Linked DNA regions of Homo sapiens: all the other regions are linked to region 1. Evidence: promoter capture Hi-C in 16 types of primary human blood cells and fetal thymus (Javierre and others, 2016). All regions are on one chromosome and are shown on one strand. Each heading gives the region's core, a stretch centred on a gene start or on the middle of the fragment in contact. The rest is flanking DNA. Distances are from core to core; before and after follow the strand shown.

What was found. The method cuts DNA at HindIII sites, captures the fragments that hold promoters and counts their contacts. A CHiCAGO score of 5 or more calls a contact.
Region 2: a contact is called between a fragment that was not itself captured here and the fragment with the promoter of OR13A1 in region 1, in 1 of 17 cell types (neutrophils). The highest score is 6.9, in neutrophils.
Region 3: a fragment that was not itself captured here is called in contact with the fragment with the promoter of OR13A1 in region 1 in 4 of 17 cell types (total B cells, naive B cells, M1 macrophages and 1 more); the score reaches 8.5 in total B cells.
Region 4: a fragment that was not itself captured here is called in contact with the fragment with the promoter of OR13A1 in region 1 in 5 of 17 cell types (total B cells, neutrophils, M2 macrophages and 2 more); the score reaches 7.5 in total B cells.
Region 5: a contact is called between a fragment that was not itself captured here and the fragment with the promoter of OR13A1 in region 1, in 3 of 17 cell types (total B cells, neutrophils and monocytes). The highest score is 5.4, in total B cells.

The regions. Positions count from the first base shown.
Region 1 is chr10:45,313,184-45,318,485 of GRCh38, reverse strand. It overlaps OR13A1 (olfactory receptor family 13 subfamily A member 1), which reads left to right and starts at 2,878. Exons shown (of 4, transcript NM_001004297.3): 1 at 2,878-2,962. The HindIII fragment of the contact is 10,818 bases long and covers 1-5,302 here.
Region 2 is chr10:45,543,222-45,548,523 of GRCh38, reverse strand. It overlaps a transcript of MARCHF8 not described here. Among named protein-coding and RNA genes, the nearest start is that of MARCHF8, 11 kb to the right of the region's middle. The HindIII fragment of the contact is 1,649 bases long and covers 1,140-2,788 here.
Region 3 is chr10:45,523,477-45,528,778 of GRCh38, reverse strand. The region is part of intron 2 of MARCHF8 (membrane associated ring-CH-type finger 8); the gene reads left to right. Among named protein-coding and RNA genes, the nearest start is that of MARCHF8, 9.2 kb to the left of the region's middle. The HindIII fragment of the contact is 205 bases long and covers 2,464-2,668 here.
Region 4 is chr10:45,505,578-45,510,879 of GRCh38, reverse strand. The region is part of intron 2 of MARCHF8 (membrane associated ring-CH-type finger 8); the gene reads left to right. It overlaps LOC105378286 (a long non-coding RNA gene), which reads right to left. Exons shown (of 3, transcript XR_945919.1): 2 at 1,164-1,344. Among named protein-coding and RNA genes, the nearest start is that of MARCHF8, 27 kb to the left of the region's middle. The HindIII fragment of the contact is 1,190 bases long and covers 2,247-3,436 here.
Region 5 is chr10:45,485,427-45,490,728 of GRCh38, reverse strand. It overlaps MARCHF8 (membrane associated ring-CH-type finger 8), which reads left to right. Exons shown (of 8, transcript NM_001282866.2): 3 at 1,312-1,362. All of the region lies in intron 1 of LOC105378286 (a long non-coding RNA gene), which reads right to left. Among named protein-coding and RNA genes, the nearest start is that of MARCHF8, 47 kb to the left of the region's middle. The HindIII fragment of the contact is 8,910 bases long and covers 1-5,302 here.

The sequences.
Region 1 (5,302 bases), core at 1,629-4,128:
CACCTACTCATCTGACAAAGGGCTAATATCCAGAATCTACAATGAACTCAAACAAATTTACAAGCAAAAAACAAACAACCCCATCAAAAAGTAGGCAAAGGATATGAACAGACACTTCTCAAAAGAAGACATTTATGCAGCCAAAAAACACATGAAAAAATGCTCATCATCACTGGCCATCAGAGAAATGCAAATCAAAACCACAGTGAGATGCCATCTCACACCAGTTAGAATGGCGATCATTAAAAAGTCAGGAAACAACAGGTGCTGGAGAGGATGTGGAGAAATAGGAACACTTTTACACTGTTGGTGGGACTGTAAACTAGTTCAACCATTGTGGAAGTCAGTGTGGCAATTCCTCAAGGATCTAGAACTAGAAATACCATTTGACCCAGCAATCCCATTACTGGGTATATACCCAAAGGACTATAAATCATGCTGCTATAAAGACACATGCACACGTAGGTTTATTGTGGCACTATTCCCAAGAGCAAAGACTTGGAACCAACCCAAATTTCCAACAATGATAGACTGGATTAAGAAAATGTGGCACATATACACCATGGAATACTATGCAGCCATAAAAAATGATGAGTTCATGTCCTTTGTAGGGACATGGATGAAGCTGGAAACTATCATTCTCAGCAAACTATTGCAAGGACAAAAAACCAAACACCTCATGTTCTCACTCATAGGTGGGAATTGAACAATGAGAACACATGGACACAGGAAGGGGAACATCACACACTGGGCACTGTTGTGGGGTGGGGGGCTGGGGGAGGGATAGCATTAGGAGATATACCTAATGCTAAATGACGAGTTAATGGGTGCAGCACACCAACATGGCACATGTATACATATGTAACTGACCTGCACGTTGTGCACATGTACCCTAAAACTTAAAGTATAATAATAAAAAAAAATAAATAAAAATAAAAAATAAAAGAAAATGAAGAAAATCATGTCATTTGCAGCAACATGGATTTGGCTAGAGGACTTTATCCTAGGCAAACAAATACAGAAACAGAAAATCAAATACCACATATTCTCACTCATAAGGGGGAGGTAAACACTGGGTACTGATGGACATAAAGATAGCAACAATAGACACTGGGGACTATTGGGGTGGTGAAGGAGGGAAGGGAGAAAGTGTTGAAAAACTGTTGAGTACTATTCTCAGTATCTGGGTAATGGGACCATTCATACCCCAAACCTCAACATCACACAATATACCCAGGTTACAAACTTGCACAAGTGCCCTCTGAATCTAAAATAAAAGTTGAAAAAGCAAAAATAAAACAGTAAACAACAACAACAACAAAACAGCAAAACCCTCAATAAATACATAAATAAAAATATAAATAAATGTCTTTGCCAGAGCTTTTTGTTTTTTGTGTGGCTTTGAGTTAGTATCTGGGGTCACGTTGCTTTTAAGCTGTTTGCTATCAACTGCATCCTATCTAATATTTCTTTTTCTTAATAGTAAACCACTCAATTTTTGTGAGGAGATATTACATTGTGGTTTTGATTTACATTTCTCTAATGATTTCCTTTCCAGTTTGGATGCTGAGCATTTTTTCTTATGTTTTTTGCCCATTCATATATAATTTTAAAAGAAATGTCTATTCAAATCCTTTTGCCATTTTAAAATCATATTATTTTTAAATATTGTGTTGTAGAAATTATTTATATATTCTGGATATTAACTCTTTATCAGATATATAATTTACTAATATTTTCTTCCATCCACAAGTTTTTTTTAACATTGTTATGTCCTTTAATGCATAAAAGTTTTAAAAAGTTTGATGTAGTCCCAATTGTCTATTTTTTCTTTTGTTGTCTGTACTTTTGGTGTCATATTAAAAAATAATTGCCATATCCCCTTATTCTAAGAGTTTTATAGTTTTAGATCTTCCATTTAAGTTTTAAATCCATTTTGAGTTAATTCTTGTATATGGCATAAGACAAAGTTTCAACTTCACTCTTTCATGTGTGGATATCCAAGTTTCCCAACACTGTTTGTTGAAGAGAATGTTCTTCCCTCATTGAGCGGATCTGGAATGCTGTAAATATTATTTGACCATATATGTGGAGTTTTCTTTTAATGGGTTCTTTATTCTATTCCATTGGTCTATATGTCTCTCTTTAAGCCAGTGTCATGCTGTTTTAATTACTGTAGTCTTGTAACATGTTTTGAGATCACGGAGCATGAGACCTTCAACTCAGTTAGTTTTCAAGATTGTCTAGTCAGAGTATATATGAATATTTAGATAAATTTTTCTCTTTTTTCAAAAAATGCAGCTTAGATTTTGATAGGGATTACATATAATTTGTAGACTGCTTTGGGTTCTATTGACTTTTCAAATTAATACATAATGTTGTACAGATTTGGGGAATACATCTGATATTTTGGAGATCTTAACATTAAATCTTCCAATCCATGAATACCAATGTCTTTACATTTATTTGTGACTTCTTTCAGTACTGTTTTGTAGTTTTCAGTGTACAAGCCTTTTATTTCCCTGGCTAAGTTTATTCCTAAGTATTTTACTATTTTTGATGGTATTGTAATTAAATTATTTTCTTAATTACCTTTGGATTGTTTATAGTTAATTTATAGAAAGGCAACTGATTTTTGTGTGTCGATTTTGGATCCTGCAACTTTCCAGAATTTGTTTAATAGTTCCAACAGTTTTCTGGATTTTATGCATATATGCATCTAACAGTTTTCTAGATTTTATGCAGGAGTCTAGGATTTTATGCATATAGGATCAAGTCATCTGTGAGCAGAGATAATTTTACTTTTTTCTTTTATTCTTTGGATGTCTTTTCTTGCTTAATTTTTTTTTCCTAATTGGTCTGCTTGGAAATTCAAATACTATATTGAATAGAAGCGAAGAGACAGAGTATACTTGTCTTGTTCCTAATCCAGAAGAAAAGTTTGAATCTTTTACCATTGAGTGTAAGTTTACCTGTGGATTTTTCATATATGGCCTTTATTATGTTATTTTCCTTCTATTCCTAGTTTGCTGAGTGTTTTCGTGATAAAAGGTGTTAAATTTTGTTAAACATTTTTTCTACATCAATATAAATGATCATGCTGTTTTGTCCTTTATTCTATTACTATAGTGTATTACATTGATTTTTGCATGTTGTATTATTCTTTTTTTTTGAGATGAAATCTCATTCTGTCATTCTGGCTGGAGTGCAGTGGCATGACCTCAGCTCACTGCAACATTTGCCTCCTGGGTTCAAGGGATTCTCCTGTCTCAGCCTCCCAAAGTGCTGGGATTACAGGCATGAGCCAGCACACCCTGCCACATGTTCTATCATTCTTGCATTCCAGGAATAAAGCCAACCTGATCATCACAAATATTGGTCTGTAGTTTTCTTTTCATGTAATGTCTTTGTTTGACTTTGAAATCAGGGTAATACTGGCCTCATATAATGAGCTTTGAAGTGTTTTTTATATTCATTTTTGTAAATGACTTTGAGAAACATTGGTTCTAATTCTTCCTTAAATGTTTGGTAGTCATCCGGTTCTGGGCTGTTGTTTGTTTGGAGGTTTTTGAACCAGTTTAATCTCCTTCGTAGTTATAAGTCTGTTCGTTTTTTCTACTTCTTCATGATTCACTCTTATTAGGTTGTATATTTCTAGAAATTTATGCACTTCTAAATTATCCAATTTGTTGACATATAATTAACTGTTGATGGTATTTTCTTATAATCCTTTTGATTTCTATGGCATGGGTTCTAATGTTCTCTTTTTTATTTCTGATTTATTAGTTGAATCTTTTTTCCTTAGTTAATCTAGCTAAGCATTTGTTAATTTTGTTGGTGTTTTCAAAAACCACCTCTTAGTTTTGTTGATTTTTTTCTATTGTTTTTATATTCTATATTTCATTTATCTCTGATTTAATCTAATCTTTAGGATTTTCCTCCTTCTGCTAGCTTTGGGTGTAGTTTTTTTTCTCTCCTAGTTTCCTGAGGTATAAAGTTAGGTTGTTGATTTGCAAACTTTCTTCTACTTCTTTTTTTTTTTTTCTTAAGTTGTGGAGATGGGGTCTTGCTTTGTTGCCCAGGCTGGTCTCAAATTCCTGGCCTCCAGAAGTTCTCCTCCCTCAGCCTGTCAAAGTGCTGGGATTGCAGGCATGACCCACCATGCCTAGCCACTTTCTTCCTTTTATAATGCACATATTTATAGCTATAAAATTCTCTGTTAGCACTGCTTCTGCTGCATCTTACACATTTTGGTACATTGTATTTTTATTTTCCTTTATCTCAAGATATTTTCTAACTTCCCTTGTGATTTCTTTTTTGACCCATTGCTTGTTGAAAACTGTGTTGTTTAATTTTCACATATTTGTGAATTTTTTGTTTTCCTTCTGCTACTGATGTCTAGTTTTATGTCATTTTCATCAAAATAGATATTTTGTATAATTTCAATCTTTTAAAATTTGTTACAAGTTTTTTTGTGGTATAACATGTGATTTATCTTTGGGAATATTCCATGTAAACTTGAGAAAAATACTATTCTGATTTTATTGGGTGGAATGTTCTGCACATGTTTGTTAGCACTATTTATAGTGTTGTTCAAGTACTGTATTTCCTTATCGATTTTCTGTCTTGTTGTTCTAGCCATTATTGTAAGTGAGGAATTGAAGTCGCCTACCATTATTATGCTGTTTATGTTTCCTCTCTGATCTGTCAATGTTTGCTTCAGATATTTAGGAGCTCTGGTATTAGAGGTATATATATTTGTAATTGTTATATCTTTCTGCTGAATTGACTTTTTGTTATATAATATCCATTTTTTTGTCTTGTGACTATTTTTGACTTTAAGTCTATTTTGTTGGATAGTAGTATAGTCACTTCTGCTTGCTTTTATTTACCATTTGCATGGCATTTACTTTTCCTTTTTTTCATTTTAAGCATATTTGTTTCTTAGACCTAAATGACAGGATAAAGTTGGATCCTTTTTACAAATCCATTTTCCAGTCTATATCTTTTGATTCAGGAGTTTAATCCATTTACATTTAAAGTAATTACTGATAGGGAAGGACCTACACTTGCCATTTTGTTGTTTCCTGTATGTTTTGTAAATTTTGTTTTTTATTCCTTCTCTTACTGACCTCTTTTGGGTTTTGTCGATTTTTTTTTGTGGTGACATTTTGATTCCCTTCCTGTTTCCTTTTGTGTGTATTCTATAGATTTTTTTATGGTTACCATAAGAATTATAAAAAACATCTTAAAGTGTTAACAAGCTATTTTAAACTGTTAAGAGAATAACTTCGACTGTGTA
Region 2 (5,302 bases), core at 715-3,214, 230 kb before region 1:
AGATGCAAAATCTTTCAGAAAGCCCAGACATTAGTCCAGGCCCTTTTTCCAGTTAATTGCACCTGGTTTACCTAATTCACGTACCTGCCCCGGTGGTTGTACTGAGGTCTTCCCGAGTCATGGAAGGTGTCCTGATAGCATGCACTGTCTGGAGCCGAGTCCTGCCTGCCCCACATTAGCATCTCACTCTCATGCAGCTGTGGTGTCTCTCTGTTACTCTACTTCTGGGGATTCTAAATTGCATACACTGCCTTTCAGTCTACAGCCTGACTGCTCTCTCTTAGCCAAGCACTTGCATTTGGACAGGACTTCAGCATTAGGCTTTGTTGTTTTCCTTAGGGGCCCAGTTTTTATGGAATTTTTTCCTACTGGGTAGCATTGTTGGCACACCTTGAATCCATCCATTCTGCCGCTCTTGGCTTCAACCTCTGAGGTTATGTGTTGGAAAATTACCTTGCATCTTCTACTAGAATAAAGATGAAAGAACATAAGGATGTGGGCTATAGTTTTTAAATGCAGTGTTTCTTTTCTGTGGCTTGTGATACAAATTTGCAAGTGAACTCAAAATGCTACAGTTAAATATCTGCCATGAATTCGACCTAACTATTTGAGGGGTATCTTAGTGCCTTAAAGTAACCCACTTTTGAAATATCTAATTTATTATCTTTGCCAAATTTTAGGCAGATATAACCATTGCTTTGGTTAAGTTGTCCCTCTATAGACAAAAAAGACAACAAAAGGCCTGTCACTATTTAATACTTCAAATGTGAATTCCATGTTGTCTTCTATATCCATAGGGATTATAATAGCTCTTCTTTACTACAACAAAGACAGGAACATATTATGTTTTATCTTAGTCCTTCCCGTAGCAGTGCCACTGTGAAATTAAAAAAACAAAAAACAAAAAAACCGCTACATATTTTAGGTTCACCTGATCGGTTGCTGCACACTATCACATTTAGTCAAGCATAAGTTGTGCATTTTTATCCATTCTAACATCTCTGAAATTGGCACCTTGGAATCCCCGCTTAGTCAGGGATAATTATGGTCTAGTTGCATAAAAACTTTTTGTTGACACCTTCTGTAAGGTCAAGCAAATGCTGGCAGCTGAGAGTCCTTGAAATATGGCTGTGAAAGCTTGGGCAAGTTGATTAATTTCTCTAAGCCATGCATGAAAGGGAGATAAAAGTTTCTCTCCCTCCTGGCACTGCTGTGAGATTTAAATGAAATATGCATGTAAAATACTTAAGATTTACAAATGCTTTCATCTAGTTTTTTCCTCCATTATTATTGACAGGCAGTATTTTTATACTTTTTAGTTTCTTCATATACTTTATCTGTTTAAATTATTTATGCTTTGGATTTTATTTTCCACTTATTTTCAGCATTGCTTATTTACTATTGTTTTATTTAACATTTATTGTACCCTTTATTACCTCTAGTAATGATCTGAATTTTTTTGGTGGGGAGACAAGGTCTTTCTATGTTGCCCAGGCCAGTCTAGAACTCCTGGCCTAAAGTGGTCCTCCCACCTCAGCCTCCCAAGTAGCTGGGACTACAGATACAAGCCACTGCAACTGGCAATGCTCTAAATTACTCTAGGAGATTTAAAAACTAACAAACTTCAGTCTTTTGTTTCTGGATAAACTTTAGTCTGTGGGATATGTTTGTATGTCTTATGATTTCTTCACTATTGGTAATTGCATATATATTTTCTGGTAGTTAACTTTTTTTTTTTTTTTGAGACAGGTTCTCCTCCTGTCACCCAGGCTGGAGTGTAGTGGTACAATCTTGGCTCACTGCAACCTCTGTCCCCTGGGCTCAAGTGATCCTCCCATCTGTCGACCAAGTAGCTGATACCACAGGCATGCACCACCACGCCCAGCAATTTTTTTTATATTTTTAGGAGAGATGGGGTCTCACCATGTGGCCCAGGCTGGTCTCAAACTCCGGAGCTTAAGTGATCCACTCGCCTTGGCTTCCTAAAGTGCCAGGATTACAGGTGTGAGCCACCACTCCTGGCCTGCTTTATTCTTGTTGCATTAAAAAATTTCAGCTCATGACCGGGCGCTGTGGCTCACGCCTGTAATCTCAGCACTTTGGAAGGCCAAGGCGGGCGGATTGCCTGAGGTCAGGAGTTTGAGATCACTCTGGCCAACATGGTGAAACCCTGTCTCTACTAAAAATACAAAAAAATTAGACAGGAGTGGTGGCGTGCACCTGTAATCCCAGCTACTCGGGAGGCTGAGGCAGCGCAATCGCTTGAACCAGGAAGGTGGAGGTTTCAGTGAGCCGAGATTGCACCACTGCACTCCAGCCTGGGCAACAGAGCGAGACCCTGTCTCAAAATAAATAAATAAATAAATAAATAAATAAATAAATAAAAATTCAGCTCATTTTTATATTTTAAAATGAACTCGCTGTTTTTAAAGCTAATAGTTTTAACAGGCCAAGCCCAAATAACAAAATTTGCATCAGACTGTTTTTTAGTGGGTAACATATGGAGACCTTGTGGTGTTTCTCTGTCATCTTCCCTGAAATTTCTCAGAGCTTTCAAGTTTAATTTTGGTCTTCGTTTCAGTAAAAGGCAGGAGCAGGGCAATCTTTATAGCTTTATAGCTTAAGGTTAGCCTTGCTAACCAGTGGTTAAGTGAGAGTGAGACAGAGGGCGAGATGTGATGTGGCAGGGGGAGCCTTCTTTCCTGGCTGAGTGAAGGGAAGAAGGCTTTGAGGTGATACTAGTGCAGTAGCATATTTGGGCTCTCGTTCAGCTGTTGGATAGCAAGCTTCCATAACTTGCTATCTATCCAGCATTGCGTTTTTGACTCAAAGGTTGAAATTTCTTATCTGTAACTTAGGAAACTCAAGTTTTCCTCTGTCTTAAAATGCTTTGATCAGTAATTCTTAACTACTTATACTTGTCATCTTCTAAAATTATTCTTAAAGATACTTAGATTACATTCCACTATATTTGAAATCCATTTCAATTTTCAACTAAGTCTGATGTGGTCAATCTGCTGCAGATATTTAAAGATCAGTGGGTTTCTTCCCATCTGAAATGAATTGTACCAGGTTGACAAACATGAATTTTTGTTAGTTTTTCCAAATCTCCACTAGGGTACTTGATCAGGATTTGAGACAGAGAACAGTGTTGCTTAATAGTTTGAGTTACAAATGAAATTCTCAGCCATTTTTGCCTGCTGTCTCAGGGAGATTGATCCAACCAGCATTTATTTAATAGATCTTATGTGATAGGCATTGGGCCACAGAAAGAGAGATACAAAGGTGAGCAAAATGAGATATGCTGCCTTTGGGGAGCTTACGGCTGAGTAGGGGAGAAAGTCATTAATTAAAGAACTCAATAAATGTAACATTCTGTGAACATTGTTAATGAAGTAGAGGTTCTTCATTGATCCTATAAAGAACTATGAATGTGGAATTTCCTCTGTCAGGATGGTCAGATGGTTGAGGAAGAGTTAGTTAGCCCAAAAGGGGAAGGAAGAGTGTTGCAGGCAGAGAATACCATATATATAGGCTGTGATGGTAAGGTGCTGGGAGGTCTGAGGGGACTGAAGGAACACTGCTGTTGCTGGACTATAGAGAGAGGGGTAGTACAAAATGAGGTGGGATAGATAACATAGGGCCTTGTAAGCTGTATTAAATGAGCATCTTGAGGTGTAATTTAGGCACCATAAAATTCACCTATTATAAGTGTACAATTCAGTGATTAATAAATTTGAAGTAGTGCAGTGTCATTGTAATCCAGTTAGAGACATTTCCTTTGCCCCCAAAGTTCCCTCTTGCCCATTTGCAGATAGTACCCACAACTACACCCAACATGAGGCAATCACTGATCTGCCTTCTCAAGACACTTTATAAAAACGGAATTGTATAATATATAGACTTTTGTGTCTGACTTGTTTCAATTTGCATAATCTTTGAGGTTCATCCATGTTGTAGTGTATATGATTGGTTTTTTCCTTTTAATTGCTGAATAGAATTTCATTGTATAGATAAGCCACATTTTTATCTATTCTTTAGTTGGTGGACATTTGGAATATTTCCAGTTTTGGGCTATTATGAGGAATGCTGCTATGCACATTCATGTATGTGTCTTTGTGTGGACGTATGTTTTCATATCTCTTGGATGAATTCCAAGGACTGCAGTTCCTGGGTCATAGGATAAGTTTATGTTTAACTTTTTAGGAAACTGCCAGACTATTTTCCAAGTATCTATACCAATTTATATTCTCACCAGCAATACATGAGAGATCTAATTTTTTCTATATCAAACAATTAGTATTGACTGTCTTTTTGATTGGAGCCATTCTAGTGTTTTTGGTTGTAGCCATTCTAGTGGGGGTATAGTGGTATATCATTGTGGTTTTAATTTTTAGCATCTTTTCATGAGTTTATTAGCTATTCATATGTCTTCATTATTTTATTTTATTTTTTAGAGACGGGGTCTCATGCTGTTGCCCAGAATGGAGTACAGTGTTGTGATCATAGCTCACTGTAGCCTCGAACACATGGGCTCAAACGACCCTCTTGCCTCAGCTTCCCGAATAGCTAGGACTACAGGCACATATGAGAGCCTGGCTCTCATATATTTTCTTTGATGAAATGTCTGTTAATGTATTTTGCTTATTTTAAAATTATGTTGTTTGTCTTAACGTAGGAGTTCTTTATTCTAGATACAAGTCTTTTTTTTTTTTTTTTTTTTTTTGAGACGGAGTCTCACTCTGTCACCCAGGCTGGAGTGCAGTGGCACGATCTTGGCTCACTGCAAGCTCCGCCTCCCGGGTTCACGCCATTCTCCGGCCTCAGCCTCCTGAGTAGCTGAGACTACAGGCGCCCGCCACCGTGCCCGGCTAATTTTTTGTATTTTTAGTAAAGACAGGGTTTCACCATGTTGACCAGGATGGTCTCGATCTCCTGACCTTGTGATCCGCCTGCCTCGGCCTCCCAAAGTGCTAGGATTACAGGCATGAGCCACCGTGCCCGGCCAGATACAAGTCTTTTATCAGATATATGATTGTCAAGTATTTTTCCCCCAGTCGGTGGCTTATCTTGAGTTTTATTAATGGTATCTTTTAAAGTGCAAAAGTTTTAAATTCAATAAAGTCTGATTTATCAATATTTTCTTTTTAAATAACATCTGCAAAGGTGGGCATTCAAGCCAAAGTTATGGATTAAATCACCCAGGAAAAGGGAGCACAGAATGAGAATCAGAGAGGGTTAAATGGAACTTTGAGGAATATCTGTGTACAATGTCATGCTATAGGGGATAGATCTGCAGAGG
Region 3 (5,302 bases), core at 1,317-3,816, 210 kb before region 1:
GAGTGTATTTCTGAGTATTTTATTATTTTTTTGTAGCTATTGTAAATGGGATTGACTTCTTGGTTTGGTTCTTGATTTGGTTCTCAGCTTGATTATATCATTGTTGTATAGAAATGCTACTGATTCCTCCTCACAACAAAAAATACAAAAATTAGCTGGGTGTGGTGGCACGTGCCTGTAAGTCCCAGCGACTTGGGATGCTGAGGTGGGAGGATCACTTGAGCCCAGGAGGTCGAGGCTGCGCTAAGCTATGACTGCGCCACTGTGCTCCAGCCTGGGTAACAGAGTGAGACCGTTTCAAAAACAAACAAAGAAACAAACCCCAACTAAACAAAAGAAATACTACTGATTTTGTAGGTCGATTTTGTATCCTGAAACTCTACTGAATTAATTTATCAAATTTACGAGTGTTTTGGAGGAGTCTTAGGGTTTTCCAGGTATAAAATTATATCAGCAAACAGAGATAGTTTAACTTCCTCTTTTACAATTTAGATGTCTTTTCTTTCTTTCTATTGCATTACTGCTCTGGCCCGATAGGACTTTTAGTACTGTGTTGAGTAGGAGTGGTAAGAGTGGGGATCCTTGTCTTCTTCCATTTCTTAAGGGGAATGCTTTCAACCTTTCCCCATTCAGTATGATGTTGGCTGTGGGATTCTTGTATATGGGTTTTATTATTTTGAGGTATGTTCCTACTACACCAAGTTGTTGAGTGGTTTTTATCATGAAAGAATGCTGAATTTTATCAAATGCTTTTTCTGTATCTATCGAGATAATATGGTTTTTGTTTTTAATCCTGTTTATGTGGCAGATCACATTTATTGATTTTTGTATGTTAAACCCTACTTGTATCCCTGGAATATAACCCACTTGATTGTGGTGTACCATGTTTTTTGATGTGCTGTTGGATTTGGTTTGCTAGTATTTTCTTGAGCGTTTTTGCATCTGTGTTCATTAGGGGTACTGATTGATTCTGTTTCTGTTTTTGTGTGTCCTTGCTTGGATTTGGTGTTAGGGTGATACTGGCTTCAGTTAGAGAGGATTTTCTTCAATTTGGGGGAACAGTGTTGTCAATAGGATTGGTACCTATTCTTCTATGTCTGGTAGAATTTGGCTGTGAATTCATCTGCTTCTGGGGTTTTTTGTTGTTGGGAGATTTTTTTTTATTTTTATTACTGGTTAAGTCTTACTGGTTATTGGTCTCTTCAGGCTTTCTCTTTCTTAGTTCATTCTTGAGAGGTTGTGTGTCTTTAGGAATTTACCTGTTTCATCTAGGTTTTCTAGTTCGTTAGTGTAGAGATGTTCATGGTAGACTCTGATGATCTTTTGTATTTCTGTGGTATCATTTGTAGTGTCTTTTTCATTTCTGATTGTGCTTATTTGAATTTTCTTTCTTCTTGGTTAATGTAGCTAGTAGGCTGTCAATTTTGTTTATCTTTTCAGTGAAGCAACTTTTTGTTTCTTTATCTTTTGGGTTTTTATGATCTGGATTTCATTTAGTTCTGCTCTTCATCATTTCTTTTCTTCTGGGTTTGGTTTGTTCTTGTTTTTCTAGTTCCTTGAGGTACTATGTCAGGTTAACTTGTGGTCTTTCTATTTTTTTCGATTTAGGCATTTAACGCTATAAACTTTTCTTTCTTGAATCCATTTACAGTCAACACTATAAGCTTTTGCTGTATTCCAGAGGTTTTGGTATGTTGTGTCTCTACTTTTGTTTAAAAAATTTTTAAACTTCCATCTTAATTTCATCACTGACCCAAAAATCATTCAAGAGCAGGTTAATTTCCATGTATTTGTATAGATTTGAGAGTCCTTCTTGGAATTGACTTTAGGTTTTTTCCACTGTAGTCTGAGAAGACAACTTGAAATGATTTCAGTTTTTTAAAAATTTATTGAGACTTGCTTCATTCCTTAAGATAAGGTCTGTCTTGGAAAATGTTCCACATGCTAATAAGAAGAATGTATATTCTGTGATTGTTGGGTAGCTTGTTATATAAACATCTGTTAGGTCTATTTGTTCTACAGTCCAATTTAAATCCAGTGGGGTTTTTTTTTTCTTTTTTTTTCTGTCTCAGTGGTCTGTCTAGTGCTGTCAGTGGGGTGTTGAAGTCCCCTCTTGTGCTATAAAGGAATGCCCAAGGCTGGGTAATTTATAAATAAGAGATTTTATTTGGCTCACTATTCTGCAGACTGTACAAGAAGCACAGTGGTTGTGTAAAAGTGCCTGGCCTCCTCTCTTCAGCCTGGCTTGTTGGCTGGTAGCAGCAGCTGCTCAGGGCTCGGAAGCCTGTGTACTCCCATGTGAGTTTGAGCAATGCCTCTGTCAATCTCCAGGCAACTCACTCTATTAGGCTGGAGACCTGCGAGGGTCAAGGGGGTCTCCCACAGCTAGCGTTGCAAAAGTCCATGGTGGGAATGTGGAGCCCTGGGAGTCTCTCATCTACCCTTTCCCAGCATCTAGAAGCTTCTTTCATCTCTCAGCAATCCTGGCTGAGCACGTGCCTTGCTTCCTTCTCCTTTGTGATCAGTGATTCCTGTTGCTTTTCAGTTGAATTCCAGTGTTCTGTTTTAGATGACCTATTTGAAGGGTGAATATCTACTCGCCGTTTTGGAGCTTTCCATGGAAGAGGCATGTACTAGCTGCATCTAGTTAGCCATCTTGAACCAAGCTTCCAGTTTCTCATATTATTAACATCTTAAAATAGTGTGCTGCATTCATCATAGTTAGTGAACTAATATGAATACATTATAGTTTTAAAGTCCATGCTTTATTCAGATTTCCCTACTTTTTAACTAATGTCCTTTTTGTGTTCCAGGATCTCATCTCTAGGATGTAGCATATTACATTTTGTTGTTGTATCTCCTTAGGCTCCTCTTGGCTATGACAGTTTCTCAGACTTCCCTTGTTTTAGATTACCTTGACAGTTTTGAAGAATACTGATCAGGTATTTTGTGGAATGTCCTTCTATGGGAATTGTCTGATATTTTTCTCATGACTAGACTAGGGTTATAGGTTTTGGGATGGAAGTCCACAGATACAATGTACCAGTTCATCACAACAGATCGAGTATACTATCAACATGATTTATGACTGATTTTCTTGACCACCTGGCTGATATAGTGACTATCAGGTCTCTCCACTATAAAGTTACTCTTTTTCTCCCCTTTTGTACTTCATTCTTTGGAAGGAAGTCACTAGGCATAGCCCACTTTAAAGAATGGGGAGTTGTGCTCCCCCTCCTTGAAGGTGGAGTCTTTACATGAATTATCTGGAATTCTTCTACATGTCTGGAACCCAAATTGCAAGATTGTCCAAAAAATACATTTTTCAATTTTCTGCCCTGTCCTCCTTGATAAAGGGATCCTGAAAGAAATGATCTGTATCCCAGGATTCCTGAAAGGTGATAAGTAAGAAGGTAATTCAATGATCAACTTATATTTAAAGTAAGCTACACAGAAAATAAAAGTGGTATTTTATATATTTATAAACAGTCCTAGTTTTGGCCCTGTTGTCCTGCTACTGAGGTCAAAAGGAGGATTTTACCATGCAGCATCAGGATGATGGTCAGTAAACACAATTTCGTATTTGCTCTAAAAACACATGAGTATTGATAGATCATACTGTATTCATTTGTACCTAACATCTTTTGAAAAAATGACCTCACAATGTTCAAGTGATAACAATATCTTTAGACAGAATCACCACACTTTTACTACTTAAAAATTATTCTCTTTTCTCTATTAGATAAATTCTTCCCTTTTAAATAATAAAAACCTAATATAAGGAACTTGGAGAAAACCTCTTGAATTTTAACATTGCAGTATCTCCAGAGCCATGTGGGCAAACTCCCAGTTTAATGCTTGAACCTACTCTGTATTATCATGGCCAGTTTGTTTTTAGGGCACCATTAGGGCATCAGCCCTGATGCTAACCCACTACTTCGAAAGGCGGTTGTTTTGTGCTTTTTTTTTTGGGCTACCAGAGATTTGAGATACAGTATAAGACCAAACTGTCTGTAGCTTTCTCTTACTGACACTTTTACTTTTTGCTTCCAGGAACTGCCAGTCTTATTCTGCAGGATAAAAATCCCTTATAATCACGTATTATTAGTTGGGTCTCTCAGCATTCTAGTTACTGTCTTTTAGACCATTTCTAGCTTTTTTATAGAAGTATGTTTTCATGAAGAGATGAATATGCATCTTTAAAATAAACCTGTTGCAGATTACTGTCTGGTTAGGCATCACCATCTGTGAGATCATTTGCGTGGCTTCTTGAATCATCCATCTACCTTACCTGCAAGGGCCACAAGAGATTAATTTTCTCATACCTGGAAACCAGAATTTCTTTGTCACCTGTTTACCTGTTCTTGCTCCCTGGAGTCTTTCACTTCTGCTTCCAAGCGTGTTTTTCCTATTTGGTAATCACAGCGATCTCTGAAACCCCTTGGAAGTATCTCCTAGTTGGCTCAAACATGTATAGAAAGTTGTAGCATGCTTAACATTTAAGAACCAAAGATGACTTCTTTACTAAATGGTCATTTTCTGCTTTGTAGGCTTGTTTTCTTTGAGAATAAAGAGAAGTTTTGATGTTTTTCTAGAGATTAAAAAAGAGTATGCTGTTATAAAACATTAAATTCAGGTTGACCCATTTGAACGGCTACATCTACATTTTCTTTTGCATATATAGATTTTTGAAGCTTAAATGCAGATAAAATTATGTGCAACTTTGAGGTCCTGCAATTTTAAATATTCTTAGTAAAAAGCCAACAATATCGATTCCAGCTATTTTATATATTAGCAGCTTACCTATATCAGCCAATTCTCACGTAAAACTTGAGAACTGGTAATGGTTTGCTGTTTATTTATTTAGAGTTTAGAGATGGAAGGAATGCACAGAATAACTGTAGCTGACCTCTGTGGATGTTGGTCTAGTGAGAGTTTGCTAGTTAAGAGTGTACATAATCTAGGTAAAACCAAGAGTCTTGTCTGGTTGTGCGGTAAGTGAAGCATTTGCAGTTGGTTTCAGTGTGTTGCATATAAGTTGAGTCAAGGTGGTGTATGAATACGTTTGTCTAGGTATCACTGTAGGACTTGATGATTATGATTTCTTGGTTGTCACTACTCTCTTATAGCTGTCCTGTGTGAATTGGACAACTAGGTGGCAGATAATTTTTCAGATTTTCTGTCAGTAACTTGAAAATAAGAAAACCACTCAAATATATTTATTTATTTTTCACTCTTTGTTTTTATTTATTTAGTTTAGAGATTGGGTCTCACTCTCACAGGCTGGAGTGCAGTGGCATGA
Region 4 (5,302 bases), core at 1,592-4,091, 190 kb before region 1:
CTTCATTAACTCTACTCTCCTCCTCCTTCCACTTCCACATAGTCCACTTTATAGAGGAGAAAGCTGAAATCCAGAGACCCTAGATGAATGGCTTAGAACAAATGTGTGGCTGTTATGGTCTTGTGCTTGGTTGTTTCATATTTTCTAGTTGCTTGTTAACTTCATTATTGCCACAATGAGGTTTAAAAAAGAAAGCAGTGGTGGAAACAGATAATCACATTACTAGAAATTTGGACTATATTATTATACTGAAGACAAATATTGATGCATTTTGACGTTACTTTAAATAAATTACCTTAGTTTGTTGAAATATAGTTTTATAAGAAATAAATTTTCCTGTCTTGACTTCTGTGATGTAATTGTTTTTTTCCTGAGTTAAAATTTTAGTGACTAAAATATGTACTAAATTTTATTTCAAAATTGAACTTCTTGTAAAATGGTACTTTATGCCATTTTTGTTATTCCTTAAGACGACTTGGCTTTTCCTTTTATGTTTGAGATAGATGTAGATTATGTCATAATTTTCCCAAATCTATTTTACTAACTGTATTAGTCTGCTTGGGCTGCCATAAGAAAATACCATAGACTGCATGGCTTAAATAATAGAATTCATTTTCTCAAAGTTCTGGAGGTAGGAAAGTCTTAAGATCAGGGTCTCGCAGTGTGCAGTTTCTGGTGTGGCCTCTCTTGCTGGCCTTCTCTCCATGTCTTGACATGGCCTTCTCTCTGTGCACAAGCTGAAAGCATCTGTAAGCTGAATAATTCTAGTTTCCAACCTCCCGATGTTAGAATTTGTTTAAAAATTTGAGAGACTGTACTACTCTATCCCATTCTGTCTTCTCCCTACGCTACTCTTCAAGTCAGGCACGTATGAGATGTTTAGTCTTCTTTCCCCAGATTACAGGCGTTGTTCAGCTGGGCACAGCAAGAGTGTTAAAAGTTCCTTAAAGTTCTTAAGTTTGCTCTGCTGCACGTTTTCTTTAGGAATCTCAGATTGGATTTTTTAAAGCCTCTTGTTACTAGTGATCTTAAGGCTAGGAAGCTATGCCAATAACTCTATATCAGATTTCACCTGTTTTATTTATAAGAATTCCTCATTTCTTGAGGTCCCTAAAATATCCTAAGACTCATGGGCCTCCCAGGAAGTGGCTTTTCTTACTCACCTGCAAGGCTGGGAACTCTGTAAGCCAGTTTTTCCAAAGAAGGCTTTGTAAGGATGACTCTGTAAAGGCAGTCTTAGTTCCTTAGTTCCAGAACACTTAAAAGTGTTTAGTCATATTTGATTGAATGAGCATCATTTTCAAATGTGAGTTTAGTTGCAAAACCAATATTTCCACTTATGTCCTAGTAAAAAAGAGGACAGATTCTTATTTAATCTATGCAAATAACTTTATTGCCCTGAAAATAGAATATTTATTACGTTTCTGAACTTTGGAGGGCTCAAGCAGGGAGAATAAGATGTTTACAAGTGTTTCATTTCAGTATACAAAAGCAGAGTCTACTAAGTTATGAGTTATAGATAGCTTTAAGAAGAAAGAGAAAAGGCTTCCTTATATGTCTGGAAAATACATTCAAACAGCATCAACAATATTCCAGACAAAAACTACAGTCATCCCTCATTAGCTCATTCAGCCATATCTAGTTAATTTTTGTTCCACTGGATGTGGGGTTAGTAGTATTATCAACCCATCGGCTTCCTCATAAGAGTCCTGGAAATTCTGACTTAGGCCACTGGTATGGTCTGAAAGTTGTTTAAGCAATGTCATTTAGAAGCCTGTGCCCCAAAGTACCTGGCATAGCCCTTTTCCATGGGGTTCTGATTCCTTCTGGCCTGTAGCTGATTGAAAAGGCTCTGAGGGAAACATCAGAATAAAACAGCAACAAATAGATGTCTGCAGATAAAAACATTTAAAATGGCTGCAGTTAATTTTTTACTGATCATTTTCAAAAAATGAAGGATCTGATGAGAGTTTGAGAAAAATATAACTGACAAGGAAATCTGGTTTCTGTGACATGCAAAACAAGATAATAAAGTCAATAAAAAAATTTTAAACAATTTAAAATGTAATAATGAACTCTATAGTTAAAGGATGTAATATTATATCTGATTTATAAAAGCAGATGAGCATAAACTTTACAGAGAAATGAATCTTGAAATATAGCAATAATCCTAGATATTATGTACCAATAATGTATCCAGAATATCAAGTGAAAAGATCTAGTAAGTCTGGAGTGGGTCCTAAGCTTCTGTATATTAATGAAACTCCATCTCCATAGTAAATTATGTGAATCCTTAATTGAAAACCACTGGCCCAGAAGATGCTGCATTCACATTTGAAAAGTGAAGTTGTAACCAAGTTAACATTTTAAAACATAAGAGTGATAACAGCTATACAGTGCAGAGTATCAGGACTTTGATAAATAGAAACTAATCATGACAGTGAGAGCATTGACAAATCTCTTCTGATTTGCTAATTCCTCCCATGCAGTTTCATCAATAGTAACAAACACAATTGTTTCCAGTACTTTTTTTTTTTTTTTTTTTTACTGTGAAAGAATAAATTTTTGTCCTCTTTCATGGGCCCTCTTATAAATCTCAGAGACAGTTTTAGTCCCAAAAGTATCTCAAATTTTTTATTTTATTTTACATTTAGGATTTGAATTTGTAAAGACATAAATGAAAAGTTACCAGGAGATTTCAACACTTAGGAATCAGATCATAGGTGCCTGAGAAATACTTTCCTACTCATTTCAAAGTGACATCCAAACATTTGAAAATAAAGTGAAGGTTACATGATTGTAAAGCATTTGGCTCTTTCATAAGTGAGAAATATTTAATCAAGGACATTGTACAATCAACATGAAAAGCACAGAAAACTATTTTGGTAAAACAGAATCTTTGTTATTTATACAGCAGATATCTTACAATCTCTTACTAAGGGCAGATCAATAATCCAAGAAAATTTTCTAATTTCAACAGAGAAAACCAAACTCCAGTATTGTATCAGTGTAATATTTGATACTACAGGAACTACAAGCACTTTTATAAAATCTTTTTTTTTTTTTTTCAAAACTGAGCTAACTTTGGCCAAGGCAAGTAAAATTATCTTTTCTCAAATCTTCTACAACTTTCTATATCAATTTTTGTCCTTTACAGCTGATGTAGTTTGGATATTTGTCCCCTCCAAATTTCATATTGAAATGTTATCCCCAATGTTGGATGTAGGGTCTTCTGAGAGGGGTTTGGGTCATAGAGGCGGATCCCTCATGAATGGCTTAATGCCCTCCTCTGGGTAATGCATAAATTCTCACTTAGTTCCTCTGAGATCATATTAAGAAGAGCCTGACACCTCCCTCCTTGCTCTCTTGACCTGTCGTCCTTCCTCTCACCTTGTAATCTCTGTTCTCCTTCTCCCTGTATCATGAATGGGAAGCTTCTTGAGTGTCTCTCTGGAAGCAGATCCTGGCACCATGCTTCTTGTATAGTCTGCAGAACCATGAGCCAAATAATCCTCTTTTCTTTATAAATTACCCAGCCTCAGGTATTCCTTTATAGTAATGCGAACAGACTGAGACAACCCTCTTTCTCGTTCTGGAACAACCAGCCCTTTTATTTTAGGACAAAACTATTTTTTTTTCCTTAATAAACAAAACCCATCCTACTACCTCACACGTAGTGTTGTACCTGCCTGCCACCATTGTTCTAGTAGTCTCATTCACATGTTATTGATAACTTTTAGCCAAAGTAACTTTTATTACACAGAGAAAACTAGGGAGTGGATAATTGTGAGCTGTTGCATGCCACTGTTTTAGCAAACTAGCAGAGCTAACATCCAGAGCTAACACAACTTTAACTGTGTGTACACTTTCATTGTGTACAAGTCTCAAGAGTGGCAAAAATGAACACATTTAACTGATTAAAAGAGCCAAAGACATAGCCTCTTTGTAGCATATAAAAATAAGAAACAAGTATATTTGTCAGGCCTCTGAGCCCAAGCCTGCATGTATACATCCAGATCGCCTGAAGCAACTGAAGAATCACAAAAGAAGTGAAAATTTTCCACTACCTACCCAAATCCTATAAAACTGCCCCACCCCAACTCCCCTTGCTGACTCTATTTTCAGACTCAGCCCATCTGCACCCAGGTGATTAAAAAGCTTTCTTGCTCACACAAAGCCTGTTTGGTGGTCTCTTCACATGGACGTGCGTGACAATATTAAATTTATGCTTAGTTATAAATGTCTCAATATTCAGTCTTACTTAGAAATGAGATCAGTATTGAGTGCATATTCATTAGTTAATTCAAATTGATACCAGTTCGAGTTTTTAAGTTTCCTAAAGATCTTGGAAATTTGTCTTCAAGCTGATATATTGCAAGACATAATTACTGTTGAAATACAAGGTCATCAGAATAATGATTTTGTTTGGTTGAACACAAATTTACCTTTTCCATAATCTTAGACATTAAGTAGAAGTAACGCTAGTTTATTCAATCAGTAAACCTGTATAGGTTTATGAATGACGTACCCAAATAGAATAAAAGTCTATGCTTATACTTAATATTGATAAATCAGTAAAGATACAACTGTTTCTTTTAAACCATAAATATTAAACTGGTCCCATTTCCAAAGATTTGCTTTTTTTATGTGAACTTGATTTCTTAATACAGCTCAATAATTGGTTTCTTGAAAGTGTTAGATCTTCAACCTCCTTATTTTCTGGGAAATTTAGGAATATTCTGTTTATATATGTACTTATTTACCTCTATGAGTAAATCAGAATATATTACTTTAAGAGATTTCATAATGTAGTAGATTTTATAATCTAATTTGTTAATCCCATTCTGAGGTAGAAAATTATTGCACCTTCACACATTGAAAGACAACAGCCTTTCTGAATTACACATAGACACGCAGATGCGGAAAGAGTTTATGACTTCAATTCTGAAATTTCAACTATGGGGCCATGGCAAATACAGAATTATAAAACTCATCAGTCCGTGTCAAAGAGTTGCTCTCTTCCCAGTGAGCATGAATTCTTAATTGATTCGTGGTGAGAACAGACAAATAGACAAACAGAAAAAAACTAACAAACCAGACTATTTATAGTTGCTCACCCATTAAACCATTCACAAAGATTAGAGATTTTTATAAAATGGCCAGACCATAAAACCGAATCCCCATTGGGAAATAATTTGTTGGAGGTCCCAAATTTCACAGCCATGTGGTTTGAATAGGATAGAATCACCTGTAGCTCCAGATGGCTCTAATTGGCCTAAAGCAATTAATGTTATCTTGTTCT
Region 5 (5,302 bases), core at 1,865-4,364, 170 kb before region 1:
GTTTTTGTTACTCATTTGGGTTTAGAGCAAGAATGAGTAGATTCAGGAAAATGACTTTATTTTTAAAAATCAGATTTATGTTTAGAGTGTTCACTTTTTTTTTTTAAAGAAAGTCATAGGATGGAAGATGATCGTAGTTGTTTGAGGGTTGCCATAACAAATTGCCATACGGAAGGTGGCTTAAACAACAGAAATTTATTTTCTCATAGTCTGGAGGCTGGAAGTCCAAGATGAAGGTGGCAGCAGGGCTGGTTTCTCCTTGGCTTGTAGATGGCCATCTTCTCCCTCTGTGTTCACATTGTCTTTTATCTGTGTGTGTCTGTGTCACAAACTCCTCTTATTACAAGGACACCAATCCTATTGGATTAGAGTCCACTAGGATTAGAGTCACCTCCTGAGTAGCCGGGACTACTATTGACCTCATGTAAACTTAATTACATCTTTAAAGTCCCTATTCCAAATAGTTATATTCTGAGGAAGAAGGAGTTTAGGACATCAACATCTAAATTTTCACAGAAGGGAGGGGAATACACAGTTTAGCCCATGATAGTTGTGTATCAGGGAGGTCAACCTAAAGGCAAAAAGGCCAGGTGGGATGTTATTCTTCAAGAATTCTAGCTGAGAAATGAAGAGAATCTAAACTAAAGCATTGTCAATAAAAATGAAAATGAGTTGTGATTGAGAGGAGGAAGAATTTGATACAAGACTATGTGACTGAATGTGGAGGGGCATGAGAGGAAGGAGGCTGGCATGGCTCCCAGATTTCCCTGCTCCAGGAGGAGAAACTGAGTTGAAGGAGATGTGAGCTGTGTGATATCCCGATTGAGTATTCAGCACTTTGTTAGCCAGACACCCCAGGACTGGTCAGCTGTCCTACTTTCTTCACTCTTTCGCCGTGACTCCTCATAATGTGGACTGTGTCACATACAACTGAGCATGCAGCCTCTCCACTTGAAATGTGTCTTAAGACACTTATCACCATCTGAACTTTCACGTGAAATGTGACTTAAGACACTTATTACCATCTTATTTTGACAGTGAATTCTAAACTCTTATTTTTTCCTGATAATAAAAAATTAAATCTCTTAAATAAAATGTTAAATCCTTTAGGACAGGGACTATTGTGTATTCATTTTGCCCAAATGTGCAATATTTACTGCCTGGCTACATACATCTAGTATATAGTAGGTTGTGCTTTGCAAATTCTAGTTCAGGGAATGATTTGTCAGTAGGGTTGTTGTGATCAATTACTTGTTCTTTGCATATTTTAATCAAAGATTGATAATTAAAACCTGTTTGATTTTCTTGCAGAATGAGAAGACTTTGGGACATTTCATGAGTCATTCAAGCAACATTTCTAAGGTAGAGTGCCACTGAAAAATGTTATTTATTACCTTGAGTCTTTTCTGTTCTTATGCCTTACATGTGTTTATACTCTTTTTTTTTTTTTTGAAAAGACGTTAGAGTTCTTGATACATTTCTGTAATCTGTTCTGGGACCATAAGAGGTATGTGGCAGTTACATTTTTCTGGTAAGGCAATTTTGAGTGTGTGTTGGGGGAAGTGACTTCTGGGAGAAAATTCCATTTTTTCCAGAAAACCATATACTTTAAGGCAGAAGAAATCTCAGGCACAGGAGAGTCTGTTGCCACAATTAGGAATATATTTGACTGAAAGTAACAGAAAGCTAACTATGATGACTTACATAATTATGGATTTATATGGTTCATTTGACAAGGTGTCTGGAAGCAGGTGATCCAGGGCAGAGTTGATCACAGATTGTAGTGCACCCGATTCTGTGGCTGTTCGGGGTGCCACTGTGTAACCCGCATGGACCTAGGGGAACTGAACAAGGGGTGAAGGCGGGAATAAAAGACAAGAGACAAAAGAGTATATTTGGAAGAAGGAGGCATCTTGGCTCTAGTGGACAAGGGCCCTGAGCTTTACACAGCCCTCCATATTTATTAGGCAAAAGAGATAGTGAGAAGGCGGGTGGAAGAAGGGGTCAGCTGCTCAGTCTAGAGTAGGCTTGCAAGACTGCATTCCTTGAACAAAAGGTTCTAGATGTTGCAGTAGAGAACCTTGGCGCCAGGGAGTGATTGCCTCCAGCAAACCTTCTGTTGGCAGGAGCAGTCGGCCGGAGCAGTCGTGAGTTTGCTCATATCCTGCATTCATGATGAACGGTTTGCTGTTTGATCATATAGTCTCCAGGGGAATGCTGAGTTGGTCACGTCCCATGGGTCTTCGGCTCCCTGTAACAGATGTTGCCAGGGACCCAGGCTCTTTCCTCTCTGTGCTATCTCCTACTTGACACATGGTCTCACGATGAGAGCTGGACCTTCAGGCATTGCGGTTGTGGCCTTGGCAGGAATTAGAGGACTGATCAAGGATTAACAGGTCTGTTAGCTGAGAGTCACCATTTTCAGCAGGAAGGCAAAAGTTGTCCCACAAGTCCCACCTGGCCGCCTGAAATCTGCTTACATCTCCCTGGCCAGAACTGGATCACAGGCCACCTCTAGCTGGAAGGCAGCTAGGGAAAGGAGGGCTTGGGAAGTGAATCAGCCATCCAACAGCATCTCCTCACCTGTGGTGTGGTCTTTTTAGCGCACCAGGAGCACACTGGCTGCTAGGGTATGGCCTGGGAACCAGCAGAGTGTATCTGATGCAGTGAGCTTGCTTCCAGGCAGTGCTCCTCTCTCAGCCCACACATTGACTCTGGCCAACCCCTTCGCCATACAGTTAAGGCCATGAAAGTTCTTTGTAAGGGTGGACCTTTTCCCCATGTTTTTGGCATATGGCCAAACACACCACAGATTCAGCTGGGAGGATTTGAACAAGTGACAAAGTCTATCTGCTGTCTCAGGCCTCCTAGATACTCTGAAATGAACAGTTACATTATATGCCATTTTAATGTGCTGACTACATATATGTTTTCATTCAGGTCACCTTATTTTTTTAAGACTAAAAGTAAACTCTGGCAAACCTTCTTAAGACATTTGTCTGTTCTTAGGCATATTTGTAATCTAATTATATTATTCTTCCGCTTAATTTTGCGTTAAAAATAGGAATGCCTTTCACAAAATATTTTTTCCCATCCAACCTCCATTTCTTTTCTTTTGCTGTCCCTTTGGCCAGGAATGCTGCAGTGCTAGAACTATGCAGTGGTAAACCATTGCTGCCCATTTTTGCACCTTTTAAAGGAGCTAATCAGTGTCTAAGCACGGAGAAAAGTGAGAAGGTGCAGCTGCAGATGGCCTGTTTGCTTAAGTTGAATTAAATGTGTTAAAAAACGCTCAGTAACACATGTATGTCGCCTTGCCCTAGTAGCCAAGGGCAGTTCTGAAGGAGGACATCCTATGCTTTAAATATGTACCTGTTCATTCATGGATTTCAGTCACATTTTATTTAAAGGAAACTTCTTCCTATAGTTAAAAAAAACTGTTTGCAAACCACCATCTTAAAAAGTCTAGAGGAAAGGCTATTGTCCTGGCTTGGGTTGTGGGTATTTTGAGCTTTGTAAGGGTTTTGGAATTAACATGGATGATGGTTTACTAGCCATGTGATTTTGAAAAAGGACATCTCTCTGAGCTTTAATTTAGTTATCAGTAAAAGTAGGGTAAGCCAGGCGTGGTGGCTCACACCTGTAATCGCAGCAATTTGGGAGGCTGAAGCGGGCGGATCACCTGAGGTCAGGAGTTTGAGACCAGCCTGGCCAACATGATGAAACCCCATCTTTACTAAAATTCCAAAAAAATAGCCAGGCGTGGTGGTGCACACCTGCAGTCCCAGCTGCTTGGGAGGCTGAGGCAGGAGAATCGCTTGAACCTGGGAGGCGGAGGTTGCAGTGAGCTAAGATCACACCATTGCACTCCAGCTTAGGCAACAAGAGCAAAACTCCGTCTCAAAAAAAAAAAAAAAAAAAAAAGTAGGGTAATAATACAACCTTCAGGGTTGTTCCGAGTCTTGGGATTAACATTTGCATGGAACCATGGGGCAGCTCACCCATTACACTGAGCCAACAAACCTGACTCTTGTCAAAGTTCGTTGAATCCTGGTGACCTTAGGTTGATTGGGCCAGGACAGTTCATTTAATGGTAGCTTTATTATTTATTGCTGAACAATGGAGAACCATACATTATTTTTTCCTTCTTGCATACATTTTTTTTTAGACAGAGTCTCGCTCCGTAGCCCAGGCTGGAGTGCCGTGGTGCAATCTTGGCTCACTGCAACCTCCGCCTCCTGGATTTAAGCAATTCTCCTGCCTCAGCCTCCTGAGTAGCTGGGATTACAGGTGCGTGCCACCACGCCCAGCTAATTTTTGTATTTTTAGTAGAGACAGGGTTTCACTATGTTGATCAGGCTGGCCTCAAACTCCTGACCTCCTGATCCACCCGCCTTGGCCTCCCAAAGTGCTAGGATTACAGGCGTGAGCCACCGTGCCCGGCCCCTTCTTGAATACATTTTTACTGTGTGCTGTTTGCGACTGGACACTTAGTGTGTCCAGTGAGTTCCGGGATGCTTACTATGGTCATTGGAGAGTATCTGAGTGGAGTGAGCCTTTAGAACATTTGATTACTCACAGAACTTCCTGGTTAACCTGTCAACGTGAAATTCTGTTGCAAAGTGTACCCTTTTGTAACGAAGATAGTTAGCATGCTGTATAAGGTGGTTAGACATGAACCAGTTCAGTGGGACCAAGGAAGGGAGGGCAGGCCCCCTGTGGAAGATAACTGTTTTTGAGAAGACAGTTTTTTTATTGGAGTATTTATTAAATGAACCTGCTGTTTGAAGCCAGTTTTAGGCCGTGACATGTAAAATCGTATCTTCAGTATAGCAGACATACTCTTGAGATTAAAGGAGGCCACAATGTGGACATACTGTATGCTACCTGAAATCCCCGTTGTCTCTGTCAGGAGACTTTCTGCTGACTTTTAGACCCCAGCTGGGGTCAGCACATGAGCCAGTCACTGCAGTCTGCTTTATGCTTCTGCAGTTCACCTCTTGCTGGCGTAAATTTAGAGGTTGAAAAGAGGTAAAAAATAAACCTTTAATCATGCCTCCTAGTATTCCATCTAGATTTTATTACAAAGTGTCTCAGTGTGTATTGGAAGCATATTGACTTTAAAAACCAGGCTCCATTTTCAAAGAAGGAAGCAGGTAGGTTGGATGAGATGTTTATGAGGCTGCTAGGTCTGTGGTGGCTTGCCTCTCTTCAAAGTGGGCAGCTGGATTTGATCCCCTTAAGGAGTTAATAGAAGAAGCATATTGGGATATTTAAGCAATTACAATGGCAAAGTCTTCAC